7 separate regions of the Homo sapiens genome follow, and regions 2, 3, 4, 5, 6 and 7 are each linked to region 1. Evidence: promoter capture Hi-C in human tissues and cell types (Jung and others, 2019). All regions are on one chromosome and are shown on one strand. Each heading gives the region's core, a stretch centred on a gene start or on the middle of the fragment in contact. The rest is flanking DNA. Distances are from core to core; before and after follow the strand shown.

Region 1 (3,102 bases), core at 1-2,500:
CACACATCCGTTGAGTGGCAGTGCAGGATTTGAACCAAGAAGTCCGGCCATGCGGGCCCTGGCCTGAATCCCTGTACTACAGCAGCCGTCTGATGAAACAAAGGCTGGGGGACTCTCCCCTTCCACTGCAAAAGGTTGATCTCTCTCCAGCTGGAGCAAGGGGCGCTGGAAGGATGCAATGACCCCAAAGGCAAACTGTGCCTCTTTCCTCTAACATTCCTCCGAAAAGTTGCGAAAGAGGTAGTCTCAGTAAGGGGTTAAGAACCGTAAAACCAGATTTACATGACTTGTGTACTGCATTTAGCATCAAAGCGCTGCACTCTGCCTTTCAGCAAAAGAAGTCTCCACCGCCCCCGCTTCCCTGTAAAAGAGGGAGGGCTGAATAACTGCAAGCCTAATCCGCAAACCCCAAGCTCCAGCCGCAGCCTCCGCATCTGGAAGGAAAAAGCGGCGGCAGGCGAGCCAGGGCAAGGGCTGGGCCAGGGCCGGGGCCGGGACCAGGGCCGGCCGCAGTGCCCGGCTCTGTGGCTCTGAACGCGGTTCTGGCCGCAAGAGTCGTCCAGCCCACGCTCCTCCCTTCCCCCTCCCTAAATCCCACCTCGAGTCCCGCGCCCTTAGAGGAAGTGGGTGGCTCTGCCCGGTCGCCAGCAGGGGATCGGCCCCTTCTCCCCACCGTGCCCCCGACTCGAGTTCTTCTGGGCACTGCCATCCTCTCGGTGCGTGCCCGTCTTCCTGCTGAAACGGACCCCAGTGGCTCCCGGGCCTCCCGGGCGCTCTTCCTTAGCCCCGCCAGCTTGAGGGCCGCGTCCAGAGAGCGGGGAGCTCCTCTCGGGGCGCCGATCAGGTCCCCGCGCCGCAGCCGCCGCCTCCGGCGTCTCCCAGGCTCGGCCTCTGCCGAGCCCGCTGCGGTCCACGTGGCTTGGCAGAGCTAAATTCGGCTTGCAGGAAGCCCGGAGCCAAGGGAAAGCCGAGCCAAGTTGGGGTGGGCGGGGCCGAACGGAGGCGCAGAGTCGGGAGGGGCGGGCACTGGGCGGAGGAAGGGGAGGGCCGCGCGCAGGGGAGGCGGTGGCTGGGCTCTGGCGCGCCCTGGCACCCGGCCCCGGCCGGCCAGGGAAGGCGGCCCCTCCTCGGTCGCCCCGCCTTTCACTCCCGTTACACCCGGGGGAAGGTGTTCCCGAGCCCTCTCCCACCCTCATCCCGCCTCCTCGCTTCCTCGGCTCCAGCCTCCGCCGGCGGAGCCCACTATGCCAGACAGTTTCGACACTTTGCAAAGACAAAGAGCCCTAGACCGGAGGGAGGAGGAGGAGGAAGAAGAGCGGAGAGAGAAGGAAGAGGCGATGTGAGCTGGGAAGGGGGCAAGTGTCCGGGACACCCACACCCCTGTATTCTCCTCCGAACCCCTTCATGCCCAAATCCCGGAAACTCCAGCGTGTCTCCAGCCGTGGTGAGTGCGCGCGCGGAGGCGAACCCTGCTCGGGGTGCGCGGGGGCTGCGTCCGCCTGAGTTGGGGCTCGGGCAGTTTCCTGTGGATTCTCGGAGTGGAAGGTTGATTGTCTGGACCCGGGAACTGAAGGGGTGGGGAGGGGACTAGGAGGGTGTGACAGTGGAGCTGGGACTGAAGACCCCGGGATTCTAGTGGAAGACATTCGAAGGGAGACCCCTTCCTTGGCAGCGGCGACCACCCAGGGCTTTGGGAGAGGAAGAAGGTCGGGGTGGAGGTTCGGGCTTAGGGGTCTTCGGCCGACACTGGAGGAGCTGCCTGGAGCTCTGTGGGGAACCTACGCCAAGTCCCGGGCAGCGGTTCCCGAAAGCAGCCCCAGTGACATTGCACCCGGCGCCGGGCTGGGATCTCCTCCGCTGGGGCCGCCCGTGGGAGGAGACCTCGCTGGGTGGCCGGGCTCAGGCGCTCTCGAGCGGATTTGGGGTCACAGGCTGGGACACCGCGGAGGCCGCCAGTGTTCTGGACGAGCGGCCGTGGGACAGTATCCGGATCGAGTCCCCCAATCCGCTGCAAGCAGGCGCAGATCCGGGAGGTGGCTATCGGCCCCGGGGACGCCGTCAGAGCGCGCTGCTCCGGATCTGGGGGTGAAGTTGACACCCGGGACAAGAGAGCTGAACGCGGCGTGGCGGACAGTGGGGGACGCGGGTGGGCCAAGGAGAGCACGGCCGGAGTCGTGTTAGTGGCAACTCGAAACTCTGAATCCGCCCCAACCCCGTGAGGCGTCGCAGCTCCCAAGAAATAATCTGACAAAAGTTAGCAACTTGCCTGTGTCTCTCGTGTGTGTGACCTGCGTGGGGGCAGGGCCACCCCTTCTGGGAGCGCACGGGGACGGACAGCGGTGACCCTGGGGCGAGGCGCTCTGGTGAGGGTACAGTTAGTTTGGAATCGGGACGGTGGCGCAACTTTCCGCTCCTCCTTTCTCTGCGCGAGTGTTTAAGCGTGACCTTGCGGGAGGAAGCGCGGCTGAACTTGAGATGGGGGTTGAGCTTGCGCCCCGGCTTGGCACAGAGACGTCGGAGCGCGCATTAGCCTGGCCTTGCAGCCGGGTCTCCCAGGAAGCGTGTGGGGATCGTCTGGCTCTGCTCGTCAGCTGGAGCCCTGACTCGCTCCTCCCTCCTACGCTAGGGTCCTCGGCGGCCGTACCATGCGCGGGGCTCGGTGGTGTGTTGGGCGAGGGGACACGTGCGCACCCAGAAGCGCGCAAGGGGGTGGGGGTTGGGCAGGTCACTGCGTCTCGCGGGCTGGGCGAGTCCCGCAGAGGGAGTCAGCCGTGACCCTGAGGGCAGTGACTGGCTCGCCGCGTCCCTGCATCAGGCATTCGCCCGGCTTTCTCGTGATTGTTTCCGGGCACCCCTGGCCTCTCCCGACTTCTCCCCCTCGCGGGTCCCCAAGCCCCGCAAGTTTGCGACGAGCTGGTTCTCCAGGGAGACAGCGAGCGCCCACCCCCGCTCTGCGGCTGGGTGTGTGTGGTGAGAGGAAGAGACGGGAGGAGGAGGCGAGGCCGACTCGCCAACGAGGAAAACGGGGTGAGAGGGGAGCCGGGTTTTCCAATAGTCGCCAGGGCGCCTGGCACGTCGTAGGTGCTAACGCAGTGTTCATTG
Region 2 (2,700 bases), core at 122-2,621, 740 kb before region 1:
CTCTGAGGTCTCTTGGCACTGTGGACCCCAGTCAGAAAAACTCCCAAACAAAATTGTTTCTCAGTATTATTTCTGAATATTCTAAAAGTTATGCAGTGTGATTGAGGGTGGTGGGAAATACAGAAAATGTTAACTCCTTTAAAAGTTGCCTTAAATCTTTTTGGATTTAGGAATATAAATAAAAACAAAAGCTACATCTAAATATACAAATGAAATAAACCCCAAAACCTCTTTATTTTAAGGAAAACAATCCTGCTAATAAGGAAGAAAAACCCTGCTCATAATTGCTGATTAGAAATAGCACTTTAACAGTGTCTGACATTTTTTATGTTAGAAATGGCTTTGGGTAAAATTTCTTTTATCTCATTAGTCATTATGAAGTAGTACATTTAGTTTATATAATTATTTTCAGGTTACCAAATGTTCTGCATCTGTCATATCATTTGATTCTAACAATGCAGTGAATTAGGATAATTTGTAGGCATTTATTCAGCGTGTCATATATACCAGTTCTGTGTGTAGTGTAGGGAATTCAGGTGTGAATCGGTTCCAGTCCTGCCCTTAAGGAGCTCAGATTCTAGTCGCATCAGTGGGTATCATATAGTGTGGTGCCTTCTGAGAGAGGACCCTGCAGGCTGCTGGGGGACTAATAGGGTTTGAATTTGTGTCCCCACCCAAATCTCATGTCAAATTGTAATTCCCAATGTTGGAAGGGGGGCCTGGTGGGAGGTGATTGGGTCATGGAGGTGAACTTCCCCCGTGCTGTTCTCCTGATAGTGAGTGAGTTCTCACAAGATCTGGTTGTTTAAAAGTGTGTAGTCCCTCCCCCTTCACGTTCCTTCTTCTTCAGCCGAGTAAGATGTGCCTGCCTCCCCTTCGCCTTCCACCATGATTACAAGTTTTCTGAGGTCTCCTCAGCCATGCTTCCTATACAGCCTGTGTGACTGTAATTAAACCTCTTTGCTTTATAAATAACCCAGTCTCAGGTAGTTCTTTATAGCATTGTCAGAACAGGCATCCAGAGGAGGGACTCAGAACTCTAAAATCCGGGAGGGGTGTGTGTGTGTGTGTGTGTGTGTGTGTGTGTGTGTATGTGTGTGTGTATACTCAGGGGAGAGATGACTAAGTGGAATCTTGAAGTGTAGAGATTTGGGAAATGTCCAGCGGAGGAAGAGATGTCACAGGCAGAGGCCACAGCTGGGATACTGGTGTGGAGGCTGCACACGCCCTGCTGGGGAAGCCCAAGTAGCTTAGCATGCTTGGGGTGTAGCAGGTGAGGGAGGGGTGGGCTGACCACCCCTCTTTCAACCATACTGAAGAGTTTTGACTTTTTCTGAGGTCAATGGAGAGGCCTTGAGGGGTTTGTGCAGAGGCGTGACCTGAGGGGCTGTGAGGAGGCATGATTTAGGGGGGATGGAGGTGAAGTTTGTGGGGTGGGGTGCATGGGAGACAAGAGCCTCTAATGTCGTGTGGCACTGGTGCATCCATCCCTTTGAGTCTGTGCCTCTGCACTTCTGGCCTCTGCTGGGCTTCTTTCTTCTTACCTCTGAGATGCTCCCTTTCCTCTGCAGAGATATAAGCACTTTTTCTACCTCATTGAGGTCACTAAAGACCCCTGAGCTGAGAGGCCTCCCTGAAGGTGGGATGTTTTTCCACTGCAAAGAGAAACTGCTGATGGGGCACAAACAACATAAAAGGCAACGCAATCTGGCCCCTGCAGAGATGCCGGGGGAGGCCAGCTGCTCCTAAGCTTCCTTCTCCTGTGAATCTGGAAGAAACTCACACCAGTAGCAAAGCCTGCAGAACTGTAGGCTTGTGGCCCAGCCCTGCCTTTCCAGACAACCCACTTCCTCTTCCTCTGCAGTTTCCCACCTCCAGGGGGGCTGGGTCCCGCAGAACCAGAGAGGCAACTCCTGACTGTGACAGCGGCTCTGTCTCCCTTTGATGCCAGCGAGGGCCTGGTAGGTAGCACACGAGAAGACACCATGGGGGAGAAGAGTCCATGATTAGAAGTCTGTGTGTGCGTCCATGCACCTCCACGTTTGCATGTCTCTGAAGCAGTATCTAGAGTATCTAGAGTGGTTGAAGCATAGGCTTCAACCTTCAGTGGTGTCAGACTCCCTGAGTTCAAATTTTGGCTCTGCCACTTAGTCTTAAGATCAAAAGAGACAAAGAAGGCTGTTACATAAAGGTAAAGGGATCAATTCAACAAGAAGAGCTAACTATCCTAAATATATATGCACCCAATACAGGAGCACCCAGATTCATAAAGCAAGTCCTGAGTGACATAGAAAGAGACTTAGACTCCCACACAATAATAATGGGAGACTTTAACACCACACTGTCAACATTAGACAGATCAACAAGACAGAAAGTTAACAAGGATATCCAGGAATTGAACTCAGCTCTGCACCAAGTGGACCTAATAGACATCTACAGAACTCTCCACCCCAAATCAACAGAATATACATTCTTCTCAGCACCACACCACACTTATTCCAAAATTGACCACATAGTTGGAAGTAAAGCACTCCTCAGCAAATGTAAAAGAACAGAAATTATAACAAACTGTCTCTCAGACCACAGTGCAATCAAACTAGAACTCAGGATTAAGAAACTCACTCAAAACCACTCAACTACATGGAAACTGAACAACCTGCTCCTGAATGAATACTGGGTAGATAATGAAAGGAAGGCAGA
Region 3 (2,805 bases), core at 142-2,641, 980 kb before region 1:
AGTGCAGTGGCGCGATCTCGGCTCGCTGAAACTTCTGCCACCCATGTTCAAGCGATTCTTCTGCCTCAGCCTCCTGAGTAGCTGGGATTACAGGTGCCTGCCACCGCGCCCGGCTAATTTTTGTGTTTTTAGTAGAGATGGGGTTTCACCATCTTGGCCAGGCTGGTCGTGAACTCCTAACTCTTGATCCACCTGCCTCGGCCTCCCAAAGTGTTGGGATTACAGGCATGAGTCACTGCACCGGCTGAGAAGCTTTTACCAGGTATGTCTCCCACCCAGAGTTCTTAATAAACAGCCTCCTTCTAACAGTGAATGTCTCTCTCCTCAGTGGCCCTGCCCTTCACTGCTGGACCTGCTGCGTATGCTTTCAAAAAGTGTGATTCTCCTGCAGAAGGGCCTTGCCCTGCCCTTGCCCCACCATTCTTTCCTCATCACTACCTCTCACCCATTTTTTGCATCGCACAGGACATGCCACAAGGCCCCAGCACTGGAGGAAGTTTGCCCTTTGGCTCATTCCTCTGTGAAGCTCCAAGTGCACCAAGAGCTTTTCCTGGTTTATGGAAAGCATGTCAAAATTTGGTGTGTGAATGTGCAAGTCCACAAAAAGGGAATTCAGGTCTGAAATCCACAGTTTTTGAAATCTGTGCATTTTGGAGATTCTTCAGTGTGACTTCATGCTGACCCTTCCTTCTTACTTTAGACGCTTTTGCTTCTGAAACAGAATAACCCTCTCTGCTGTTTGACAAATAGCTCAGATCACTCCTCTGTCCCTGACCTCCAGAAGGTGAGACTGGCCTTCTCTTCTGTAGCCATCAGCCTTTTGGTATAGATGAGTATGCTCTTTCACAAGGGAAACCATCCACGCCATCATCTTGAAAAGACACTATTTAAAGTTTATGTTTGATGTATCTCTAAATGCAATTGAATCTTCAAAAATGTGCACCATGAAGCTGGAGAAATCTATTGCCTGTTGTCAGCCTAAAATTTGCATAACTAAAAGTATTTTCATAAAACTAGTGAGAGGCAAGGGAGATCTCAATCACCGATTTCATTATCATTGAGAAACTTTTCCTGAGAATGCCATATAGAATACATGATACCACAATTTGACATTCAGAATTTTAAGAAAAAACATAAGTACAAATAAAGTGCTAACTATTCATTTGGTTTTTTGATGCAAAGCATATGAAATGTTTACTTATTTTTCAACACATTTTTTTTTTCTGAATACCAGGCACTTCTGTGTCAGGCACCATGACAGGGGCAGAGGATTTCAGGATGAAGGCAGGCCTCTGGTCTGCCAGGGTTACAAGTCTGGGGAGAACCAAATAGACATCAAAAGTAACAGCAAATATGTTAAGTGCTACAAAAAGTTATGTACAAGGTGCTGTGGGAACCCAGAAAACCAGCAAACTAATTATTCCAACTTTATCAGTTTTTAAAAATTATGTTTTAATTGGATTAATATATTATCCTGTTGTGTAAAACCTGTAACTTAAAAAACCCGTTGCAACCAGAAAGCTCTCTGATTGACTGATACCCACAAGTCAAAGGGAATTAGTGTAACCTCTTTTTGCATTCCTGATGATGAAATAAGTCCTGAAGGCCTTTATAATGTGTCGGTGTGAAAGGGAAATGGTTGTATGTACAAAATACACGAGGCATCTGAGCACCTAGAATGTATAAGGGGCTTGGGTACTCAGTTGAACAAAGGTGATGTTTGGATGAGGTCAGCCGAGGATGTGGCTGTGTAATTTGCTCCTAGTTTCCAATCTAAACTTTGTCAGCAAGGAAGTGAAAGCAATAAAATGATCTCAAATAAGCAGATTGTTTGGAAGCCACACATTTATAAATAGTTCAAAGTAATCGTCTCAGAGTCTCAGCACCCCCTCAGAATGCTGAGTCATCTGGCATTGCTTATGGCATTGCAGTTTTATTTATACTACAACTCCTCCTGTTACCTAGAAGACGTTTTCATCTTTCCACAAGAAAGTTCCACCACAAGGTTGAATGTTTAAATATCTAGCATTAGAATGAATAAGACGGGTGGACTGGTTTCTTTGTAATAGCCATGTGCTTGGCATTACGCAGGTGTTTTCTGTGTATTACCTTATTTTGCCCTGAAAAACTCTACCAGGTAGGTAATTAACATCCCCGTTTTACGGATTAGGACACTGAGGCCCACAGTCTATTTTAGTAATGTGCTCAGGAGTAACACAATTTCTATGAGCTAGAGTTGGGATTTTGATCCATGTCTCTGTAGTGAAAACTACTCTCTGCGCGTTAGTCCACGCTTTCTCATTTTCAAGTGAAGCAGAGGAACTTATTTACCCCTTTGTCCTTTTTCCCCTCACTGCTATGCCTATTTAAGCCTGCAGCTGTATGTTTAGCTATCAAGACTCGAGCAAAATCTTCAATCAAAATGCTGATGGAGTGTAAAGTTAGCAGCCAGAACATTTTCCAGGTTCAGTGGAAACTACTGAACCAAGGGGCAGAGGGAAAGAAGTAAAGCATAGAGTTTCTGTTGGTGGTGTTTGTCTTGCTTTTCAGTTCCAAATTTGCAAGAAAATGAGGAATCTGAGATTACACATGGTTTTCTTGTTAATTTTGAACGTGGCGGGTGGGGTTGGGAGCGGGATGCATGGCAGGGCCATGTGGTGGTGGTAACAGGGGCCATTTGTTAAATTGGTTTGAAATGCAAAGTCTCTGCTAAAAACCTCTTAGTGCCATCTTCAGCTTCATTCTATTTTAGATGTTTAAAGCACCTCTGGAAAAAAAAGGAAATTGGATTGTTTTATGTTAAAT
Region 4 (2,766 bases), core at 253-2,752, 700 kb after region 1:
CCACAATCTAGTGGAAAAGGATGTTTGCCTTTTGTTGAATAAAAAGCAAAATCTCAGGGTGGCCATAGAAGAATCCTCAAGAAAGCAAATGCTAGCAGAGGGGCAAGGGGTGGCATTTCTGAGTTTATGCTCAGATTACAGCCAACCTAGACAGAGAAATTACAACCAAGGCTCAGAGGAATGCGAAATTCTGGTCTCCACTGGGCATCTGGTCTTGTTCATTCGCAGAGTACGATTCCTGCCTCCGGGCTCAGTCAGATTCTCTAACATCTCCCACAGGCAGTTCTTTGGAAATCTAAACACTGACTCACAAATGAGCCATGTATTTCATTCTGTCCTGCACTAGGGAGGGTGCTCCTTAAAAGAGCGGGCCGTACCGGGCATGGCTCACACCTGTAATCCCAGCACTTTGGGAGGCTGAGGTGGGTGGATCACTTGAGGTCAGGAGTTTCAGACCAGCCTGACCAACATAGTGAACCCCGTCTCCAGTAAAAACACAAAAATTAGCCATGTGGGGTGGCGCATGCCTGTAATCCCAGCTACTTGGGAGGCTGAGGCAGGAGAATTGTTTCAGCTTGGGAGGCAGAGGTTGCAGTGAGCTGAGATCCCATCACTACAATCCAGCCTGGGTGACAAAGTAAGACTCTGTCTCAAAAATAAAATAAAATAAAATAAAATAAGAGGGGGCCGTAGCCTAGCAGAGCGCCTGATGCATAGCCAACCACCACAGGTGTCTGTAATGAGGGTGATCTGGTGCTTCCCCAGTGAGGATTTCTCCATACAGTACCTTCCACATTCTGGTTACAATGCCCCTTTACCATATATTAAGACACATCTGATCCTTCTTCCCACTGGGCAATCTGGGTAGCATGGGTGGCTAAGGCATTTGAAGTTAGACTGGTTGCTAAGAAGTTTGAGTGTGTTTAGTCATTAAGGACAAGGGTTAATAAAGAAGCCAATTAACTCAGATCATTAAGGCTTTGACAATGGCATTAGCCCTGCTTGAAGGCTCTTAAGACCTTTACTTATGATCTGCTTGGTCAGAATGTGTGTCCACAGTTACTGGTTGGGCTAGGGCAATATAAAAGATGGGGCATGAGTCAGAAGGACCAGTGAAGCTTGCTCCCCATTACAACATGGTTCTTTAAAATTTTCCAGCCAAACAGATATTGTAAGCAGTAGCCTTCTTGAAGGGCAAAAGGACCTACTTCAGATGGGCAAACATCATTGCCAAATTCAAGTGCAAACCATCACCCAGCACATAAATAACTCACAGCAGCAGGTCAGCGAATGAGCTGCCCACAGGATTCCAGCCTTCTGGTGGCCCCAGGGAAGTAACTGCCTTCTGCCACTTCTCCATTTTAATTTTCAAAAAAAATCCCCTTAGATTCAACATCCCAAAACAAAGCTTGTGGCTTTTCCTTTTCAAATTTATCCTCAAGAATCCATCCAGAAACCAGACCTAGGAGTCATTCTTGACTCCCCCCGACCCTCACCTCCATATCAATTCCTTCACCAAGTTCTGTGGATTCCACCTGGTAAATATTCCTCCAGTCTCACCCCATCTCTTGGCTGTCCTCTCCGACACTTGCTCCATGTCAACGTCGTCTCTTGCCTGGACTAGTGCAGTAGCCTCCAAACTCGGAGGGCTGCCTCCTTGCACTCACTCTGCTCTCCCCTCACCCATTCCATTTTTTCAGAAATCCAAGTCCAGTGGTGATTATGATATACCCTTCCCCAACCCCAAGCTTCACATGCTTGCTGCAATATTGAAACATACTTACACTGAAAAAAAAAATTACTCTTTGCTATCTGAAATTCAAACGTAACTTGCTGTCTCGTATTTTACCTAGAAACCTGAGTCGCTAAGCTTAGGCCCTCTATATGGCCTCCAAGGCTCCTTCCACTGTGCCCAGAGAAGTCACTGGGCCTGCGACTACCCAGGTCTACTTAAGTATCGGAAAATCCCTGATTACAGCTGGGCTTCCAGTAACCAACCACCCAACCCTTCCCATGACCTTTCAATACCATAATTTACTCAGAGACATGCTTTCTTACAAAATGAAAAGGCTCCCATTTCAGGAGTAAATTTTTGTGTTTCTTTTAAACAAAGAATGCTTATTCTGAACTTTTGCATTTAACTCGACTGCCCTCTTGTGGAAATAGCTGTGAATTGTGCCTCAACCTCAGTGTGGCACACACCAGGGTCTTGGATGCATTCACCAATTCCTTAAGCACTGATTCCAGACCTGCTGTGTGCAAGGCTCTGTGCCATGCACTGTAGGGGAACAGAGATGAGTTACATTTATGTGGGATACTAAAAGGAGCCAGACAGTTCTAGCACCTAAGCTTACTAGGGTGAGTTCCTTAACCTCTGTGTTTCAGTAATCATTTGTATAGTAATGACTATAATTATCTAATTATAAGTATTAAGGTAAGTTAAAGGATATAAAATTCCCATTATATAGTAAGCACTCAGGTGATCTTGAACTGAGAACACATTGGTTTGCAGCAATAAGTACTCAATAAAACTGGCTGTTTGAGATTTATACTTGCTCTCAGGCAGGCCAGGCCTGGAGGGGGAAATTCTAACCTACATTTGCTGAAGCTGGCTGATGCATGAGAATTACCTACAGAAGTATAGTAATTTACAACTTTGTAAATTTGCACCCATGGTTTCATAGATGAGGCCTCATCAAATCTTCACTATGGTGTAATGAGCAGGGGCTTGTCTTCCATTTGACGGATGGGAACACTGAGGCTCTG
Region 5 (2,700 bases), core at 62-2,561, 900 kb before region 1:
GTCCAGGCATATCTAGAAGCCTATCAGCTGGCACTCTGTAAAGAAGAAGTGTGGATAATCCCAGCACTTTGGGAGGCCGAGGCGGCCCTCAGAGGATAGGATGGAAAGTTCATTTTGAATTTTAAAAGGGGTGGAGTGGGGAGATGGATTTGGAATCAAATGCTCTTTTTTCTTCAGCCTTGAAAGATGGAACTGAAGAACAAGGGGAAAATCATCAGTGACAACAGTTAATGAAGTTAATTCTTACAGTCCTTGTGAGTATTATCATCATTTGTATTCTATAGTAACCAAGGTCAAGAGTTCGAGACCAGCCTGACCAACATGATGAAACCTTGTCTCTATTAAAAATACAAAAATTAGCCAGGTATGGTGGCACGCACCTGTAATCCCAGCTACTCAGGAGGCTGAGGCAGGAGAATCACTTGAACCAGGGAGGCGGAGGTTGCAGTGATCCGAGATATTGCGCCACTGCACTCCAGCCTGGGCAACACAGCGAGACTCTGTCTCAAAAAAAAAAAAAAAAAAAAAAAAAAAAAAGAAGTGTAGCTATGTCGTGAGCGACTGAATCGTGGCCGTGTCTGAGGTCAGAATCCCAGGTTGGAGTCATCGGTTCACCCCGTAAGAGCTGGGAACATCGCATGTTCTCTCTGAGCCTCAGTTTTTCCATTTCTAAAATGGGGATCACAGTAGCGCTTTCCTCATCAAATTGCTGTGAGGCTTCGATAAGATGATGCATGTCAATTTTCCAGCATGTGCAGGCATCCAAGGAGGGTTAACTTACAGTCCTTGTGAGTATTGTCATCATTTGTTTTCTATAATAACCATGTTGGATGCATGAGTGGCAGAACAACCTGGAGGGTGAGTTCCCTTGCAGGAGCCCCAGAGGCTGGGGGAGCCTGGAAGGGACTTCTCCATTTGCAGTGATCAGGAGCGATGGTCAAAGAGCGATGTGAATGCAGAACGGAGACTACGAAGCAAGACCAGAAGGCCAGGGCCGGAGGGACTGAGGGAGACAGTCATGCTGCTTCATTTCACAGATGAGCAAACTGAGACTCCAAGAGGGAAAGGGGATCCCCTGATGGCACAGAGCAAGTGACTCTCTGAGACACTCCTGCTTGGGCCCATTAGTGAGGCGTGTGTCTTCAAGGGTCTGAGATTCCTGCCGCAGTCCCGGGAAGGCTTGTCCCTTGTGCTTCACCCTCTGAGAGTAGCCTCCTTCCTGGCTATTGCTGACTCACTGCCCTCATGACACCTGGATTCCAGAGGCTCAAAAGATAAAGCTTGTGCCAGTCACAGACCTTCCACCAAATCCTAGATGTCAGAGAGGGAGGACTGGAGGAGGCTGTGGTTGGGAGAATGTTCTGGGCTAAGGGGAGCAGGGAGGAGGAGAGTCCCACAGACGTTGGAAGCTAATGTGCTGGGCACGCCTGCCATGAACCCTGGATCTGAACAGCAGCTCTTAACTTTGTAGGGCCGCTCAGCTCTGCGGGTTCTGATGCAAGCCATAGACCTACCCCCCAGAAAACTGTGTACACACACAAAACTTAAGCACAGTTGTAAGGCGTTCATGGGCTCCAAGTGAAGGATTTTTGTTCTAATTTAAATTAGTTGTGCAGCTTTGGGCAAGTCATTTGAGCTGTTGGCACTGCAGCTTCCTTCCATTGAAGGATGGCAATGACAGTGTTCCCTGAGTGCTGATTACGTCAGCCTCAGCCGCGGGGGCTCCCCCACCCAAGCCGACCTACCCCAGCTGGGTGCCAGCAGAAAGTGGATGTGGGGGACTCATGGACTGCCCTGAAGAGCAGAGGAGTGTGGCCCTTCTCTGCTTCTCGGATGGCCCCACTTCACAGCCTGGGCAGTGAGAAGAGAACAAGTTTGAACTCAGAGGAACCTACATCCATCCCTCAGCTCTACTAGCTGTGTGCTCTGGAACACATCGCCTTTGATTTCAGAGCCTCAGTGCCTTCTTCTGAAAAATGGAGGTACTAACATGCTTACAGCTGTTGTATAGATCTGTTACCTGCCTAGCACCTCACCTGACCCAGAGCAGGTGCTCACCTGAGTAAGACATCGTTTTTTAGGGAGCCAGGAGCTGTGGTCTCTTTCCCCATCTCTGCCATGGACTCTCTGAGTGACCTTGCATTGTTTGGGCCTCAGTTTCCCTGGCATACAGTCAGGGGTTTGGGGTTGGAGGATCTCCGAGGTCCCACCCAGCTCTCATGCATTGTGGGTTGGTGTTAGCCCTGGAGAAGGAAGGTGTCAACTCAGTATGGAGGAGTCTGGGATTGGGGTGATGGATATGGAATGAAGCTACATTCTCCAGCTTGCTGGCTCCGCAGCCTCAGACAATGCTCAGTCTCATTGAGCTTCAGTTAGCTCGTTTATAAATGGGGATGTTTGCACCATCTGTAGAGTTGATACAGTATTCTACACCTTGTCATCTAGTATACTTAGCACACAGCATGTACTCAGTATTTGATAGCTGATACTACTCTGTTTGCTCAAAGACAGTGTTTTGGTTTTTCGATCCTTTGAGGATTCTTGATAGAGTCATGGCCTTCTGCAACCATGTAGGGTTTAGCAAATGTTTTTGGTAGAGCCAGGTAGATATTTTGTTTTGTTGGCCATATGGTCTCCACCGCAGCTATTCAGCTGCACCATTGTAACATGAAAGCAGCCATAGATAGTATGCAAATGAAT
Region 6 (2,968 bases), core at 458-2,957, 670 kb after region 1:
CAACAGTAGGTGCTTTCCAGCCAAGATTAAAAAACTAAACAATAGTGACTAATTTCTCTATGAAACTATGCTTAAGTGGGTCCATGTTTACAGTACCAAACAATAATAAGGAAACTTTTGCTTAGTACTGTACAGTTTCATGAGTTTCAACACTGCTGTTTCATCTGCTTCTCATCAAGTCTTTGGAAGCTGAGCAGAGTGGGTGGTGGTGTTCCTACCATCCTATTTTAGAAAAAGGACACTAAGCCCAGAGATTTCCCTCACTTGGCAAGTAAGTGGTTAAGTTCTGGGCATAAATTCGTTCTCTAGGAGCTCTACATCAGTACTTCGCTGAATTATGAATTGTTACAATCACCCCGGGAGCTAGGGAGGGAAAGAAGCTGGTGTCCTCTGTGTGTGTTGAGAACCTGGGACACTGTAAGCATAGGGCCTTGGCCAAGATGCCTTTAGGAAAAACATGATAGCATGTTTTGTTTATTTTTCAAAGAGTTCTTATGAAAGATATTTTCTTGGAGTCTCAAAACAAACCTAGCATTAGCTAGGACAAAATGTGGCCTGATCTTATGATTAAACAAAACAAACTGGGACACAGAAAAGGTAAGTAAATAGCCCAAGGTCACAGAACCAGGTTCTAGCAGGCCCAGACAAACACCCAGGCTGAGAACATCATGTGAGCTTTTAACTAAGCTGAACGTATTGAACAAAAAGAAAAATCATCTCTGACCAGCGGGGACAAGTCCCGGCTCCAATCCTGTGCTTCCAGACCCTTACTTCTAGGCAGGCTGGGACGAACAGGTCTTTTGGAGATGGGTTTTCTTGGGATCTAGCCTGTTTCCAACTGGAAAGCAGCCCACTGGTTCGAGATTTCTCGCAGGTTGTCGGGCCTGTGGGAGAGAGAGGTGCTTGTAAAGGACTGGTCGTGGGAGCCAAGAGAAAGAGGGGATCCCAGGCTGACCCCACCTTTAAGGGTCATGAGCCTGGGTGAATGCAGGTGCTCTTCATAGAGAGGTAGAATCTCTGAGGACAAAGACTCATGTGGGACATGCCAGCTTTGAGATGTCAAGTGGACTGTGGATTACACATGGCTGAGCCTCAGAAGAGGGGTTGGGGCTGCAGGTTCAGAGGCGAGGCGGTTGCTGAAACTACAGGAGTGGCTGAAATTGCCCAGCAGATGTACAGAGGGGGAGAACCAGGGCTCCTTCAACAGTCTCAGCTGTTTCCTTCCACCTGCAAAGCTGGGAGCCTTCCAACTAGGAAGTGCCAAGGTCAGCGCAAGCTTGCAGGCCTGGGGACTTGGGAAATGCGTCTGGCTGCACCCGGGACCTGGCTGAAGGGCTGGGCCATGGAGTCTCCAGCGGTTAGGCAACCACAGCTGACTAGACCAGTGATGCCCACCAAGGGGGGTCAGGAGGAGAACTCTGCAGTCTTCACTTACACTGTGGAATCTGCAGAGAGCGGGCAGTCAGTGAGCCAGGGATGAACCCTCCTTTCTCATCTACACACCAGCAGTGCCCTGGAAAAGAGCCAAGGGGAGAACATTCAGGAATTGCACTAGGGACTTACCCTGGAGTGTCCCATAAACAACTTTCCTTCTTCACTCATAGCAGTGCAAGCCTGGTCGCCTTCTGTCCCCAGTCTAGACCCCCAGCCGGACATTGTCCACAATCACTCTGATGCCCCCAGCAACCACCCACTTGTCTTTCAGGCTGGTAGAAGTTTCCTGCTCCTGTTACACAAGTGAGATAACTGGAGGCCCGAGAAGCTAAGGAATTTTTCACCAGCTGCTAAAGAGGAGCCTAAGAGTCCAGCTCACTTGCCTCCCAGTGTGGGGCTCTGTCCTCTAAAATAAAAAAGGGGTGTCACTTGGCCACCTGAAGGTGCCTATCCCTCCTTACCAGTCCCAGCGTGGCACTGCACAGGCTCCCAACTTCCAAACGCATCACACTGTGGCATGTAGGGGCCCGACCGCAGAAGGGCGGATGCTCCAGCCGAGTCGTCCGGGGAAAAGCGGCGTCTCTGATAGAAGCTTAAGGCTGGAGTCAGGGAAGGAGAAAAGCAGAATATGACCACCTGCTCTGTGTGGGCTCTGTAGCTGAGAACAACCACGTATGTCCTGGTTCCAACATAAGGAGGCCTTCTTATTTATTTATTTGACAAACATTTCAACCCACAGTATTACAAAGGCTCCTTGCACAGTAGGCAGGCACTCAACAGATTGTCCTTTAAGAATAACACTTAGGCTGAAGCTTGAAAGAATATTATAGTAGACCTCTACAATAACTTCCATACAGAAATCAGTAGGTCAGTGAAGTGTCTTCAGGCACATGAGATAATAGTAATAATAGGTAGGCTCTATACTCATATGTTATGTGTGAGGCACTAGCTAAATACATACCTTAATTAATTTAATCCTCACAGCAATCTGAAGAAATGTCATGTTATCCCATTTAATGGATGAGAAAACTGAGACACAGATGGATTAAGCAACTTAACCAAGGGTTCACAGACAGAAAGAAGAGAGGTTGGCCTTGGAACACAGGAGGGCGATTGACATCAGCTGCCCTCGTAGGTTTCCCTACCAAACTCCTACAGTTTAGTTTTTAACCCCTTTGAAACTTGGATATCCACAAAAATCATATCAGATCTTCACAGCAGCTCCATGAAGCCAGAACTTTTACCCCAGGTGAGGACACAGAGGCTCAGCGAGGGAGGTTATATGATGAACCACTGGCCACCCCACTAATGAAACTGCATCTGTCCTCAGCTCTTGCAGTCCCCGACCCACTGGGCTTTGCACATGGCTTTCCCCACCACCAACATAGTACATAGTGTTCCCATTTATTGTGTTAGATTTGTCTCCTCCGCACTAGCATTTAAGCTCTTTGGTGCAGAGATTTGTGTTTATTTTGCATGTAGAGGAGTGTCTGGCTCATAGTAGGCACTCAAGAAATCACCGATTGGGAAAAAA
Region 7 (3,062 bases), core at 142-2,641, 600 kb before region 1:
GAGGAGTACTTACATCTAAAATAGAAAAGAATGGTAGGTAAGAAAAAGCAAGTGCATGTTTGGGAAACTGTCTAGGAAATGTCAAATGCTTTATTTTATGTGACCTCAAAATGAGAAGCTCTCTTTCCCCACGCATGGTGTAATTGGACCTGATCAAAATTATTCAATGGTTTGAATTTGCTGCAGCTAGGAAATGGGGAGAGAGAAATGGGCTTAAAGTCAGTTAAACTTGCAATCTAAGTATAGTTCTGCAGCTTTCTAGTTATGAGATGTTGGGCAAGTCTCTTGACTCATTTAAATTTCAGTTTCCTCAAATATAAAATGAAAGAGACAGTATTTTGTTTCATCTTGGTTGTTCTGAGGTTTAAACACAATAATATATATGAAGGAGGCTTATAAAATACAAATGCAATTTTAAATGTGGCTAAAAGTAGTTAAGAGATAGTGTATCTGGATTCTTAAGGTTTGCAGGTGCATTCTTGTAAGCTGTTATGAATAAAAATGTCTAAAATCTACACAAATAAGTGCTGCTTGTCTAAGACCCATATTAGATTTTACCTAATTATGTAGTATTTCTGTCTCCAACTATGACTGCAAATTTTTTGTGGGTCAAGCCTCTCCTTTGTTCCTTCTTTTGTATCACTGCACAGAGCCTAACTTAGCATGGGGGTGGTACAAATTCATATTGATCAAATGCAATTAGACATTGTACTAGATAATTTGGAATATGTTAATATGTAGACTGGTGATTGTTAGTTTAGTTTTAACCTGAGAAAACTGATGCTCAGAAAGATGCAGTGATTTGCTCAAGACACACAGTTATTAAATGATGAAATGGGATATAACCTCTGGTATTTCTGACTGCAAAACTCATCTTCTGTGAAGAACTAAATTAAGTTGTATTTAATTCCTGAGCTGCGGTTCCTTCGTAAATGAGCTTAGGTTTACAATCTGAATTTGGTCTTACAACTCTAGGCAGTGCTCCGGTCTGCCACGTTATACACTGGGCACACTCTGTGAAAGTGTAAGAGGTATTCTGGGTGACCTATCCAATTAGAAGAAGAACCAATGTCCTATATATTAACCTCAGAGGAAGAAAAGACTTCTTCTTAGTATTTTCACAGTAGGATGTTGTACTTAATAACCCTGAATCTGAAAAATCAAGAACATAAAAAAAGTCCTAATTACAACTTTTCAGGCATCTGGGGGAGGTCCAAGAATTAGCTATTTTTTCTTCAGTAAAATGAGAGAATGTTAGACCTGGTAGGTAATCAGAGATTGTCTAGTACATCTGGCTTTAATATCAGATGAGAAAACTGAGTCTCAGTGAAGTCAAATAACATCTCCCAGATTATACAGGAAGTTAGTGGCGGAGCTGGAAATAGATTCCATTTACCTTTCAGGAAAAAAAAACAAAAATTCTTTCCACCATGGTTTTTGGCAGTCTGAGATAAAACATTAAAGCCAGACAACTCTTACAAAAGTAAATTGAAACACCAAAGTTTCTATCATATTTTGAACTTATTCTATCCCCTTCCCCTTATACCATTGTACTGCACATAAAATGGTGTATCAATAAATTGTTAATTAATTATTTGATTAAAATAGTAGATTGGAATTTGCTTTAGTCATTCACAGGAGGAAAAATAAAAACAAACAGAGGAGTTTTGAATGCAATATATCTAAGTAGTTCCTCCCAGACATGATCCTCCAACAGGTAATATAATAAATAGTGAGGGAAAAACAAAACATGGCCCAAAGTTACTAGAAATAAACAAAACCAGGCAGACTCTGGCTGGAAGACTGGATGACATGCTATAAGTGGCCCTTTTTATTTTTATTTTTTCACTTTTAGCCTGAAAACAGGTTAAAGTCAGTGCCATGTTGGATGGCTACATCAAACCAACAAAACACAGCTAAAAAAATAAAAATAAAAAACAACAATAAAAAAAACTACCAACCAAAACTACCAACCCCCCCCAAAAAAATAAAGAAATTTACCATCTTTCTGGTTCATAGAACCAAAGGACAGAGAGTGGAGCAACCACAATGATTGGAAAATAAGGGAGCATGACTGGAAGGAGGGAACAAAAATTTCAAGTATAAATTCTGTCCAAATCTCAAGTGATTCATGAACTACGCAAGTGTGAGACAGATTCTAGCTAAGGTGGAAATTTAAGCTTTTACTTAAAAGCTAGAGTTTGCAATTTGAGTCTAATCAAATTAAATCCTTGATAAAAACAAAGCAAACCGACAGATAAAATTATATTTCCGAAGAATATAACATCTAGAACCTCCAAATCTAACATTAATATGTCCAAGACATGACAACAAAAATTACTCAACAGATGAAGATCCAGGAATGTCATTAATTCTCAAAAGACAATCAACATCCATCAATCTTGAAATGATTAATGGGAGTTATCAAATATTTTAAAGCAGTTACTGTAATTATATTCAAAAAAGCAAGGAAAATAAACTTGTAGTCAATAAAAAGATGGGAAGTCTCATTAGAGAAATGGAAACTTAAAGAATGAAATAGAAGTTTTAGAATTGAATAACACTATTTGAAAAAATAAGCCTATTCCATTTCTAAGATTGTCATATATTATAGGTCTGTCTTGCAGGAAAAAGAAAAAAAAAAAGAAAGAACATGGCTGAGACTTATTGGAAGTTAGAAGGAGGGCAGAACATACAGTGCACACCTACCTGGATGAGGAGCTGCAAGACTTGCAGAGGGTGCCGAGAAGCAATGGGTTTTCCTTTGCCTAGAGTGCTATTTCCCAAATTAAATTCCCTAAGATGTCAACAGATGTTACCAAAAAATGGTATATGAAATTAATAAAAGAGAGGTTTTTAAAATCTGCTTTTTAAAAACTGAAGTACTTCTTGAAGCTCTCAAAAACAAAACAAAACAAAACATGCAAATGTGTGATTTGAGTCTCTAAGAAGAGGGATGCAAAGCAGGTTCCAAACATATTCAACTACAGAAACCTTTCTATTCCAGGGCATGTAGAGGAACTCGTGTTCTGCAGAACACACTTTTGGAAACAGTAGGATAG

The links. Contacts are between HindIII fragments. The study calls those that stand out against the background at their distance.
Region 2: a fragment that was not itself captured here is called in contact with the fragment with the promoter of ST3GAL1 in region 1 in 1 of the 25 tissues and cell types used here (dorsolateral prefrontal cortex).
Region 3: a fragment that was not itself captured here is called in contact with the fragment with the promoter of ST3GAL1 in region 1 in 1 of the 25 tissues and cell types used here (dorsolateral prefrontal cortex).
Region 4: a contact is called between a fragment that was not itself captured here and the fragment with the promoter of ST3GAL1 in region 1, in 2 of the 25 tissues and cell types used here (dorsolateral prefrontal cortex and hippocampus).
Region 5: a fragment that was not itself captured here is called in contact with the fragment with the promoter of ST3GAL1 in region 1 in 1 of the 25 tissues and cell types used here (lymphoblastoid cells).
Region 6: a contact is called between a fragment that was not itself captured here and the fragment with the promoter of ST3GAL1 in region 1, in 1 of the 25 tissues and cell types used here (aorta).
Region 7: a contact is called between a fragment that was not itself captured here and the fragment with the promoter of ST3GAL1 in region 1, in 1 of the 25 tissues and cell types used here (dorsolateral prefrontal cortex).

The regions. Positions count from the first base shown.
Region 1 is chr8:133,570,035-133,573,136 of GRCh38, reverse strand. It overlaps ST3GAL1 (ST3 beta-galactoside alpha-2,3-sialyltransferase 1), which reads left to right and starts at 1,250. Exons shown (of 10, transcript NM_173344.3): 1 at 1,250-1,444. It overlaps ST3GAL1-DT (ST3GAL1 divergent transcript), which reads right to left and starts at 2,565. Exons shown (of 2, transcript NR_186509.1): 1 at 2,267-2,565; 2 at 1-2,079. RefSeq lists silencers at 501-560, 751-1,240 and enhancers at 3,031-3,102, 2,610-3,102. The HindIII fragment of the contact is 11,226 bases long and covers 1-3,102 here.
Region 2 is chr8:134,310,749-134,313,448 of GRCh38, reverse strand. No RefSeq gene overlaps it. Among named protein-coding and RNA genes, the nearest start is that of ZFAT, 400 kb to the left of the region's middle. The HindIII fragment of the contact is 3,497 bases long and covers 1-2,700 here.
Region 3 is chr8:134,550,666-134,553,470 of GRCh38, reverse strand. All of the region lies in intron 11 of ZFAT (zinc finger and AT-hook domain containing), which reads left to right. Among named protein-coding and RNA genes, the nearest start is that of ZFAT, 160 kb to the left of the region's middle. The HindIII fragment of the contact is 4,514 bases long and covers 1-2,805 here.
Region 4 is chr8:132,875,044-132,877,809 of GRCh38, reverse strand. The region is part of intron 5 of TG (thyroglobulin); the gene reads right to left. Among named protein-coding and RNA genes, the nearest start is that of TG, 9.5 kb to the right of the region's middle. The HindIII fragment of the contact is 5,473 bases long and covers 1-2,766 here.
Region 5 is chr8:134,470,948-134,473,647 of GRCh38, reverse strand. No RefSeq gene overlaps it. Among named protein-coding and RNA genes, the nearest start is that of ZFAT, 240 kb to the left of the region's middle. The HindIII fragment of the contact is 3,682 bases long and covers 1-2,700 here.
Region 6 is chr8:132,896,714-132,899,681 of GRCh38, reverse strand. TG (thyroglobulin) reads right to left here. Exons shown (of 48, transcript NM_003235.5): 12 at 1,896-2,033; 13 at 1,436-1,513; 14 at 772-884. Among named protein-coding and RNA genes, the nearest start is that of TG, 31 kb to the right of the region's middle. The HindIII fragment of the contact is 4,255 bases long and covers 1-2,968 here.
Region 7 is chr8:134,172,452-134,175,513 of GRCh38, reverse strand. No RefSeq gene overlaps it. Among named protein-coding and RNA genes, the nearest start is that of LINC03024, 490 kb to the right of the region's middle. The HindIII fragment of the contact is 5,339 bases long and covers 1-3,062 here.